3 separate regions of the Homo sapiens genome follow, and all the other regions are linked to region 2. Evidence: promoter capture Hi-C in human tissues and cell types (Jung and others, 2019). All regions are on one chromosome and are shown on one strand. Each heading gives the region's core, a stretch centred on a gene start or on the middle of the fragment in contact. The rest is flanking DNA. Distances are from core to core; before and after follow the strand shown. Region 1 overlaps MYO1H (myosin IH). Region 2 holds the start of FOXN4 (forkhead box N4). Region 3 overlaps ACACB (acetyl-CoA carboxylase beta).

Evidence for each region. The method cuts DNA at HindIII sites, captures the fragments that hold promoters and counts their contacts. A contact is called where the count stands out against the background at its distance.
Region 1: a fragment that was not itself captured here is called in contact with the fragment with the promoter of FOXN4 in region 2 in 2 of the 25 tissues and cell types used here (bladder and liver).
Region 3: a contact is called between a fragment that was not itself captured here and the fragment with the promoter of FOXN4 in region 2, in 1 of the 25 tissues and cell types used here (hippocampus).

The regions. Positions count from the first base shown.
Region 1 is chr12:109,350,512-109,353,521 of GRCh38, reverse strand. The region is part of intron 1 of MYO1H (myosin IH); the gene reads right to left. Among named protein-coding and RNA genes, the nearest start is that of MYO1H, 4.1 kb to the right of the region's middle. The HindIII fragment of the contact is 3,824 bases long and covers 1-3,010 here.
Region 2 is chr12:109,307,826-109,310,654 of GRCh38, reverse strand. It overlaps FOXN4 (forkhead box N4), which reads left to right and starts at 1,371. Exons shown (of 10, transcript NM_213596.3): 1 at 1,371-1,536; 2 at 2,331-2,419. The coding sequence starts at 2,334. It also overlaps a transcript of MYO1H not described here. The HindIII fragment of the contact is 10,264 bases long and covers 1-2,829 here.
Region 3 is chr12:109,252,585-109,255,632 of GRCh38, reverse strand. It overlaps ACACB (acetyl-CoA carboxylase beta), which reads right to left. Exons shown (of 53, transcript NM_001093.4): 43 at 2,475-2,618; 44 at 1,299-1,419. Among named protein-coding and RNA genes, the nearest start is that of FOXN4, 55 kb to the left of the region's middle. The HindIII fragment of the contact is 6,394 bases long and covers 1-3,048 here.

The sequences.
Region 1 (3,010 bases), core at 329-2,828, 43 kb before region 2:
TTTCAAATATCACATCATTTAGATTTGAAACATCTAGAATTACAAGTTTAGGAATCAAAATTCAAGCAACAGTTTATTTCCCGGTAAGTTCTATAACCACAATTTTTTTTTTTTTTTTTTTTTTTTTTGAGACGGAGTCTCGCTCTGTCACCCAGGCTGGAGTGCAATGGCGCAATATCGGCTCACTGCAACCTCCGCCTCCCGGGTTCAAGCGATTTTCCTGCGTCAGCCTCCTGAGTAGCTGGGATTACAGGTGTGTACCACCATACCCGGCTAATTTTTGTCTTTAGTAGTGATGGAGTTTCACCGTGTTGGCCAGGCTGGTCTCAAACTCCTGACCTCAGGTGATCCATCCACTTCGGCCTCCCAAAATGCTGGGATTACAGGCATGAGCCACTGTGCCCAGCCTCACAATAATATTGTTTATGAGTATTTGGGGCAAGTACCCTTGATTATAGTATTAATATTAAGGACTAAAATTATTTTCATCAACAAATGTTACCACTTGAAGACTCTACTAAAACTGGTATTATATTGGGTGGGGGCATGAGAACACCTTTTGAGGTAATAGTGGGGCTGTGTCTCAATAGGGATTTGGGTCACACAGGTATATACCTTCATCAAAACTTACCAAATGAAATATCCAAGGTTAGTGCTTTAGATTGTATATACTATTTACCTCGAAAGAAAAAACACTGAACACGAGCTAATGGCAGGTGTGCAAAGCATTTAGGGGAAGTATGCTGATGTCTGCAACTTTCTTTGAAATCTATCCCCCCAAAATAAGATACATTAGTGGTTACAGGGATAGATAGATGAAAAATAAGCATAAGTAATAGGTTAATGGTAGAATCTAGGTAGTGGGTGTTTTCTGTACAATTTCTTCTTTTCTGTATGTTTAACACACTTCATCATACATGTCGGGGAGAAAAATAATCTGTTAGATCTATGCTAAAAGGCTCAAGAGATGTCTATAACGAGACACGCAAGATGTAGCAAAAGTGTATGTAATAAGGATTCTAGTTTCGTAGAATAAACAATGATGAAAATACATTCATGTATGTATGTGGGTAGCTACCCAAATAGCCCCATATGTTTCTATGACCATGGAGACAATTACATAAAGACCCTGGGGGAAGGAGGTGGAGAGTGGGAGGTGAGAGATGAGGGCTGAATATGCTCATGCACACGAAGAAATGCAAGATGCATGGGCCTCAGCATGCCGTTGTTAGCCAGGGCTGGCAGAATTTCAAATCATTGTCATTTTCTTACAATTTCCTATACCGTTTAAAAGATCCTTTCTACAATGGTCATTTATCATTTATGTAATTAAAAAGCTATTTTTATGGAAAAAAATAAAAGTGGTATTATGAACAGAGCCAGGCTTATGTGACGACAAGGAATCCATTCCCCAAAAGAGAAAAAAGGCTTCATCTTCTGGACTGTATTGAGAGAAACTTCTTGTCCCACTCACTAGTAAAAGTTACATTCTGAAGCAAAGAGAGCAAAGCATATCTTATGGAATCCTGAATGTCTAGAAAATAGCGTGGAAGGGAAAATAGAGTTTCCTTTTCTACATATGACAGCGATGAGTAAAAGCATGCAGTAATTTGAAGCAGCATCTCCAACCACCGTGGAATCTTCCACATTAGATGGTGCTTTTACCAAGCAGAGACTAAATGAAATAATTTTGTGGCATCTGCAAAAACTACTATTAGAAACATTTACTCCAGAATCCGTGTTTTCGGCTTAAGAAGCAAATGATGACACTGGAAATTTGAGTGACTCTAACAGGGACATAAATGTGATTGCAATCATCCTAGCCATGGGGGCTTTCTTCTTATTTTTCAAGTGAACCCAGCAGCTGAACAACCAATCAGCAAATATTTTCTGAGCATCTACTGTGTGCAAGGCATTATAGAAGGTACCTGGTCCCCAGGAATTTACAATCTCTTTAGAAATATAACGCAATTACAGGAGCAGTGAACAAGGCACCAGTTCTGGACACAATGTCTAATCTTTTAGATGGCTTTTAAACAGATACCAATAAAAAGATGGTTAATTAGGAAGTTACCTTAAAATATTGTCATAAGTGTCTGCGGTGAAACTGTGTGATTTGGCTTTTTCCCCCCACGGTTTTGATATAAAATGTTTATTTTGTTAGTCAAAAGATAAGGTAAGATAGTAGAGGCTGATGGGAGGAAAGTGTTCATATTTTTACCTGGCATAAGAGTTTTTACGGTAATAATATAAAAACATCCTGGCCAGGTTTAAATTCAAGCTTTGATGTGAAAATCAGTGATAGTAAGATCAGTTGCAAAATTAAAAATAAAGGTCTCTGAAATAAGATCCAGGAAGCAATTTATCTAACCCAGTTATGTGCTGAACCCAACATATTACTTGTACACCACTTCACCCATCTTCTAGTGAACCTGCCTACTAATGGAACATGAGAATGAGTCTATTCAAGGCTTAATGAGCTTAATTAATTAGCACTTATGACACTCAGGGTAAAAATAATTACTGATGGTGGTTGTTCCATAAATCTACAGATGTAACAAAATGGCATGTAACTGTATATGCACATTGTACCAGCATTATTTGTCCTGGTTTAGATATTGTGCTCTAATTATGTAAGATGTAACGATTGAGGGATATTTGAGACCTCTCTGTATTATTTTTGTTACTTCTTGTGAGTCTATCATTATTTTAAAATAAAAATCTTTTTTAAATTACCTATATCACTTTGATTCTTTGATGTGTTATAAAGTCAGGAAAACATATTTGAACCATGGAAAAGTGCTCATCTGAAACAGTAGAAGCCACCTTCTATAAATATTGAATGAACATGGATATAAGCCATGAGTCTCTTCCTCATTATCTGACAGGGAGCTTTATTAGTTCGTTTTCACGCTGCTAATAAAGACATACTTGAGACTGGGCAATTTACAAAGGAAAGAGGTTCCATGCACTCACAGTTCCACGTGGCTGGGGAGGCCTTACAACCTCG
Region 2 (2,829 bases), core at 122-2,621:
GAGTTCTTCCTGAACTTAAACACTGGGTTTAAAAAAAAAAAAACAGTCACAGGTGCGGGGACACTGGTCCCCTGCCTGCTGCGAAGTAGATAACGCGAGGACAGCCTCAAAACAACTCCAGACGCTTCGGGTGCCTGAGCCTCACTCGGTGGGGGCGGCGCAGAGGTCCACGTGCAGTACGCGAGCTGGGGAGGTGCGGGAGCCCGCGCTCTGCCCGTGCGCCGCCGACCCACTCACTGCCGCTCGGGGCTTTGGGTTCCCCCCATGCAAAAGGAGGACCATGCTATGTCATCAAGGGCTGATGCGAAGAAGAACCCAGAAGCAGGCGTCAATAAGTAACGAAAGAATGGGGGTAGCCGTGCCTAATATCGTTGCTGCCGTGGCAATTACTGCAACGGAGGCTTGAGAGTTAGGGCGCCAGAAACGCAAACTTTCCAGGGGACCAAACTCATCCAAGCCTCCTAAGGGGCCTGTGGAGACCTCTGCCCGCTCTGGGCCCCGCCGCCGTCCGCGGTCCGCGCCACCTTTCCCGCGGCTGGCTCCAGGCGGGGCGGGGCAGCGGCGGCGCGGGCCGGGCGGCGGGGAAGGGAGGGAGCGCGGTTGCACACGCGGGCCACTGCCCCCAACGGCTGCGCTGGGCTCGCGGCGCCGTACCCCGAACGCCGCAGCCTCCGCCTCCGCCGCCGCCGCCACCGCCACCGCCACCGCCGTCGCCGTCGTCGCGGCTGCCGGGGCCGCCGAGCCCCGCCGCACTCGCTCCGGGCGGGCTCACCCTCCTCGCGGGACAGGGGGGCGCAGCGCGCAGTCCCGGGGAGCCCTCCTCGCCTCGCCGCCGCGCTGGGCCCGGGCCCCCCCTCGCGGCCCCAGCAGGTGGAGGCGCCCCGCGCCCCGCTCCGCAGCCCCCTCCCGCTGCGCGCCAGCCCGCGCGGGCGCAACTTTCTTAAAGGGACAGGTGGACCGAATCCGCGTCCACCTGGGGCCCCGTCTCTGCCTCCCGGCCCGTCCTCCACTTTGGGGGAGAGAGGGGGTTGCAACAGATCTCTCCGCCCGCCCACGTCCTTTGCCCCAGGCGGGATTGCAAGTTTTAATGCACCCAGCCTCCTTTTGCAACTTAATTCCCTTGGCCGAAATCACCCTCCCACTGCTCCTCAACGCATGCTCTCGGGCATGCAGTTGTTGTCACTGTTGGCAAAGTTTGAAGAGGGGTCCCTACCCCTGCACTCCTCCGCCCCGCCCCCCTCACACACACCCCCCCCCCAGAACCCCGGGGCGTGCAAGGCTCGCGGCTGCTGGGAAACGCCCGCTGCAATCCCCTTGACCCTGCCCTGTAACTGACCCTTGGGGAAAAGCCCCCCGCACGGCTACTGCGCATGCTCTGAGCTGGACAGCTCCAGAGAGGGAAATTTAAAAACGGTTCGAGCTGCGACGGCGGCCAAATTGCGGAACGCGAGGGGCGAGCGCGAGGGAGCCCCCCTCCGGAACCCCTGCCCACCCCCGGAGCGCCGGCAGCGGCGGCCCCGCGAGGATCGGCTCCAGGTACCGCCTTGCAGGGTCGGCTTTGCTCCCTCCTCCCGGGCAATGCCGGGCATTGCATTTCCAGGGTAGAGACCCGGGCGCAGGGGCTGCGGGGCCGCCTCCCTCTGCTCCCTTTTCCTCCTTCCTGGGAATCCTTCGATGGCTTTGGGGGCGGAACTGAGGCTTTGGTGGGCTTTTATGTTGGTTCAGGCTTGGAGTTTGAGAAACTTAGGGAACTCAAATATTTTTATTATTTTTTTAAGGCAGTGTTTGTGTGTTGCGGGGACGTGGGTGGTTGGATTGGTTTTCCAGTAAGGGCTTGTGGCATTTCTGAAGGCATTTCAGGGCAGGAGCTTGCGGGGATTATTCCCTTTGCAAGTGGGAATTTGTTCCCCCAGAGAAATACACATGTCACATCCAGCTGCCCCTTATTTTGAAAGTGATCATAACCAAACTGAGGTTGAAAATATAAGGCTTGGAAGGAAATCGTTTTTCTGATTCCTATTTTGTGAGTCCACATTTTCCAGGTTTGACATTTGGATTCTAGAGCTTCCCTTGCTCTTCCCCCATTAATTCGAAAGAACCGGGAATTTCATTTCATTCTCTTCATTTGTTTCTAAAACGCTGTAGAATTGCCCTGGGAAAGTGACCTGAGATGCCCAGGAATCCTCTAGAACTTTTTTCTTTAAAGAAAAAAAAAGTGTTCTGTGAGTTGATTGTGCTCCATCTTTCTGAATTGCGGGAAAACTGTGGGTTTCTGCCCTGTCCATATCGTCGCTGATGGGAGCTTTGTTTTCTGCTTGTCTTTTCCCAAGGAGATGATAGAAAGTGACACCTCATCCATAATGTCAGGAATTATTCGAAACTCAGGGCAAAATCACCACCCCTCTCCACAGGAATACAGGTGAGGGCTCCAACAATAACAAACTATATATTTTTTAATTGCTCAAAGTGTTTGTATGCTGTTTATGGTTTCTGAAACTGCCCAAGAACTATTGTTATGTTCAATTCTGTGATTTTTGCGGGAGAGCTGGAAAGTCTTGATTTCAATGTTGGTCTTGCTAAGGGTGTCTGGGCCACAACCTGGCCCAGTGGGACCACGAAATGCCTGCTGTCTCTTGTCCCCTCCAAAAGAGGTCCGTTTCTGCATTTGATACTGTTTGGGCATCCTGGTGAATGTTAAGATGACAATAGCAGCTACTGCTTCCCCTCCAGTGGCCTTAATGGGGGCTGTGGGAAATGCTCCCCCACCCCCTGCCAAAAAAAAACCTTCTGGGAGGAATTGGGTTCTATCCTCCACAGATGTTAAGAAAG
Region 3 (3,048 bases), core at 170-2,669, 55 kb after region 2:
TGACTTAAATCCATGCAACAGCGTAAATGGCTGTGGCTCTGACCAGGAGGGGGCAGCCAGAGTAAGAGGCATCTCAGGCATGGGAGGCCCGGCACCCAGGCATGCAACAGCACAGCTTCAGCATCTGCCGAGGACTGGCCTGACAGTGAGAAGCCGAACATTTTTTAATTGAGATAAGCAGCCCCCTCAGTGTTTACAGGCCAGAAAGCCCAAGAGAAATGAAAAGCAAGAGAAGGAAGCCACAGGACTCCTTGCACTGGCTGGAGTCTAGCACACTCCCGAGGGTCACCTCTCCTGCATTGCACAGCCAAGGAGCAGCCAAGTCTAAAGGTAGCAGCATGTGAAATTCTAGATTTGGGATATAGTGACGGGAGCAGCTCAACTTTCCTGTTGTGTTCTGGTTGCTCAGACTGAAATAATATACCTCCAAGAGAGAAACTCATCCCTTTCAGAGAGAGAATGTGTGTGTGCAAAAATGTGTGTGCATGTGCATGTGTGTTCACGTGTCCACGTGCGTGTGTGTGTGTGTGTGTGTGTAGGTATAGAAGAGGTAAAATTGGCCAGGCATGGTGGCTCATGTCTGTAATTCCAGCACTTTGGGAGGCTGAGGCAGGCAGATCACTTGAGGTCATGTGTTCAAGACCAGCCTGGCCAACATGGTGAAACTCCGCCTCTACTAAAAATACAAAAATTAGCTGGGTGTGGTGGCAGGCACCTGTAATCCCAGCTACTCGGTAGACTGAGTCAGGAGAATCACTTGAACCCAGGAGGTAGAGATTGCAGTAAGCCAAGATCGCGCCACTGCACTCCAGCCTGGGCGACAGAGCAACACTGTCTCAAAAAAAAAAAAAGAAGAGGAGACCAGATTGCCTATCCTGTGTAAACTCACAGAGTTCCTTTGTAAGAGAGAAAGAAAGAGAAAGATGCAGTCTTCTCTTTGAAACTCTGATGTTTCAGCACTGAATTTTCTACTGATGAGACAGTGGGGCAGTTAGAGACCACGGAGCATGGAGCATCAGGGGAGGGAGACCAGGACCACCATTGCACCCCACCTCCATCTATTAGCTCCAGAAACTGGAGGCTGTTTCCACCCCTTCTTGGTCAATGGCTCAGGAAAAGCCTAGAGTAAAATCTCCATTTCTCTACTTTCCCTGCATTTGATTTCAGGTATACCTCTCTGGGATATGAGAACGAATATCAAGCCTTTGTCTCAAGCGCTTGAGACAAAGTGCTCCTTTGTCTCAAGCCCTAGAAAGAAACCCGAGACCAGGTCCTAGGCAAAATACTTTAGAACTTACTTGGGTGAGGCCTTCCTGCAAGCATCCACCGGGGGTCGTAGGGAGCTCTGGATGGGAGGAATTCAATTTCTCTGTCAATGGGGTCAGTGGGTGTGATGATAGGGACAGGGCTGTGATTATCCTAAAAAAGAAAGCCAAGTCTCTGACTTAGTCTGTGGTGCTTGTCAATAATACCTCTGATCAGCACTTTGCTCCTCTGACTATGATTATGCCTGGTTATGCAGCAATATCCCCTCCCTAGGGCTCCTGAAGCCACTGCTCTGATTGGAAAATGCCAGATAAGGACTGGCCATCCCATGGATTCTTCTGAAATCTAGTTTATGAACTCCTGAGTGTGCTTCCCGGTTCAGATGGTGTCACTGATGCTGGGAAGTTACAGAAACGCAGGAAAGGGTTGCTACTGCTATATATGGTCAGATAGGAGGAAAAACATCTTAAAAGAAAGAAAAAGAGATTGGTTGCAGAGAATGGTAACAGATGGCATGCAGATGGGGAAAAGGGGCACTTGGGAATACAAACTGACATTTGTGACTTGGGGTTCTTGGCAGAAGATCTGGAATGACCTGAACTCTGTAAACCCAACCTCTCAGAAATGGTTATAATGAAGAATGACAACCTCACTCATTTGTAAGGAATGTTACAGTTAACCAAGAACTGTGCCCACGATTGTCCCCTTCTTACTTTGGTGAGGACCTACCAAACGTTGTGCTTTAAATATCACTTCACTTAATCATCATGATAACACCATGAGTTAGGTGCTATTATTATTCTCATTTCACAGATGAGGAAACAGGCTCAGAAAAACTTAGGGACTCTCCCAGTGTCTTACAGCTACCGAGGAGGAAGGCAGGAATCAAATCCAGCCTGACTGTAAAGCTTAAAGACTCAGTATTGTCCAATGCTGCCTCTTGTCAAGAGGCAATACTACCTCTTTCTAAAGGATTAACAGATAGCATCCTTACAATGGCATTAGTGCCACCAAAAGAGCAAAGGACACCTAGTACAGGGCTGGGCATCAGAGAAGGAAGAAGGAGTAAGAAAAATCAACCCCAGCCACATGTGCAGTGCTTCCTGCTCCTCAGCCTCCCACACCACCCAGGAGGTGACAGGGACAGAATTAGCCAATGAGCTTAATAAGAGTCTTCCAGGTTCTAAGCTGCAGGGGGAGTACTGCACCTTTGGCATATAGGACAGCCACTCCAGGATGGTATAAACCCCCTCAAAGTCATCTGGCACGGTGATGTGGGAGACACCATTGTAATGCATGATCTGAACGCCACCCAGCTGGTTGTTGGATGTGTAGACCTCTCTTCCCAGGACCTGCTTTGACACAACATGGTTAGCAATGTCCTGCACGGTGCAGGGCTCTACCACCTGTTTGGAAATCATCTCAGTGCTTCTCAATCCTGGCTACACATTAGAATCACCCAGGAGATTTCACAAATCCTGATGCTCAGGCTACATCCAGACCAATTATATCAGAATCTTCGAGGAATTAGTTTTTGTGTTTTGTTTGTTTTTTAGTTTCTAGATAATTCCAATATGCAGGCCAATTTGAGAACTGGTGATGCAGCTGACTTCTACCTTGACCATCTCAAAAGCAAAACCCTAGCTAGTGTTTCTGATTCAGCAGGTCTGCAGCAGGGCTTGAGGATGTGCATTTCTGACAAGTTCCCATCTGATGCTGATGCTGTTGGTTCAAGAACCAGGCTTTGAGACTTTGGCTGAGATTTGAGCAGACATTAAGTAT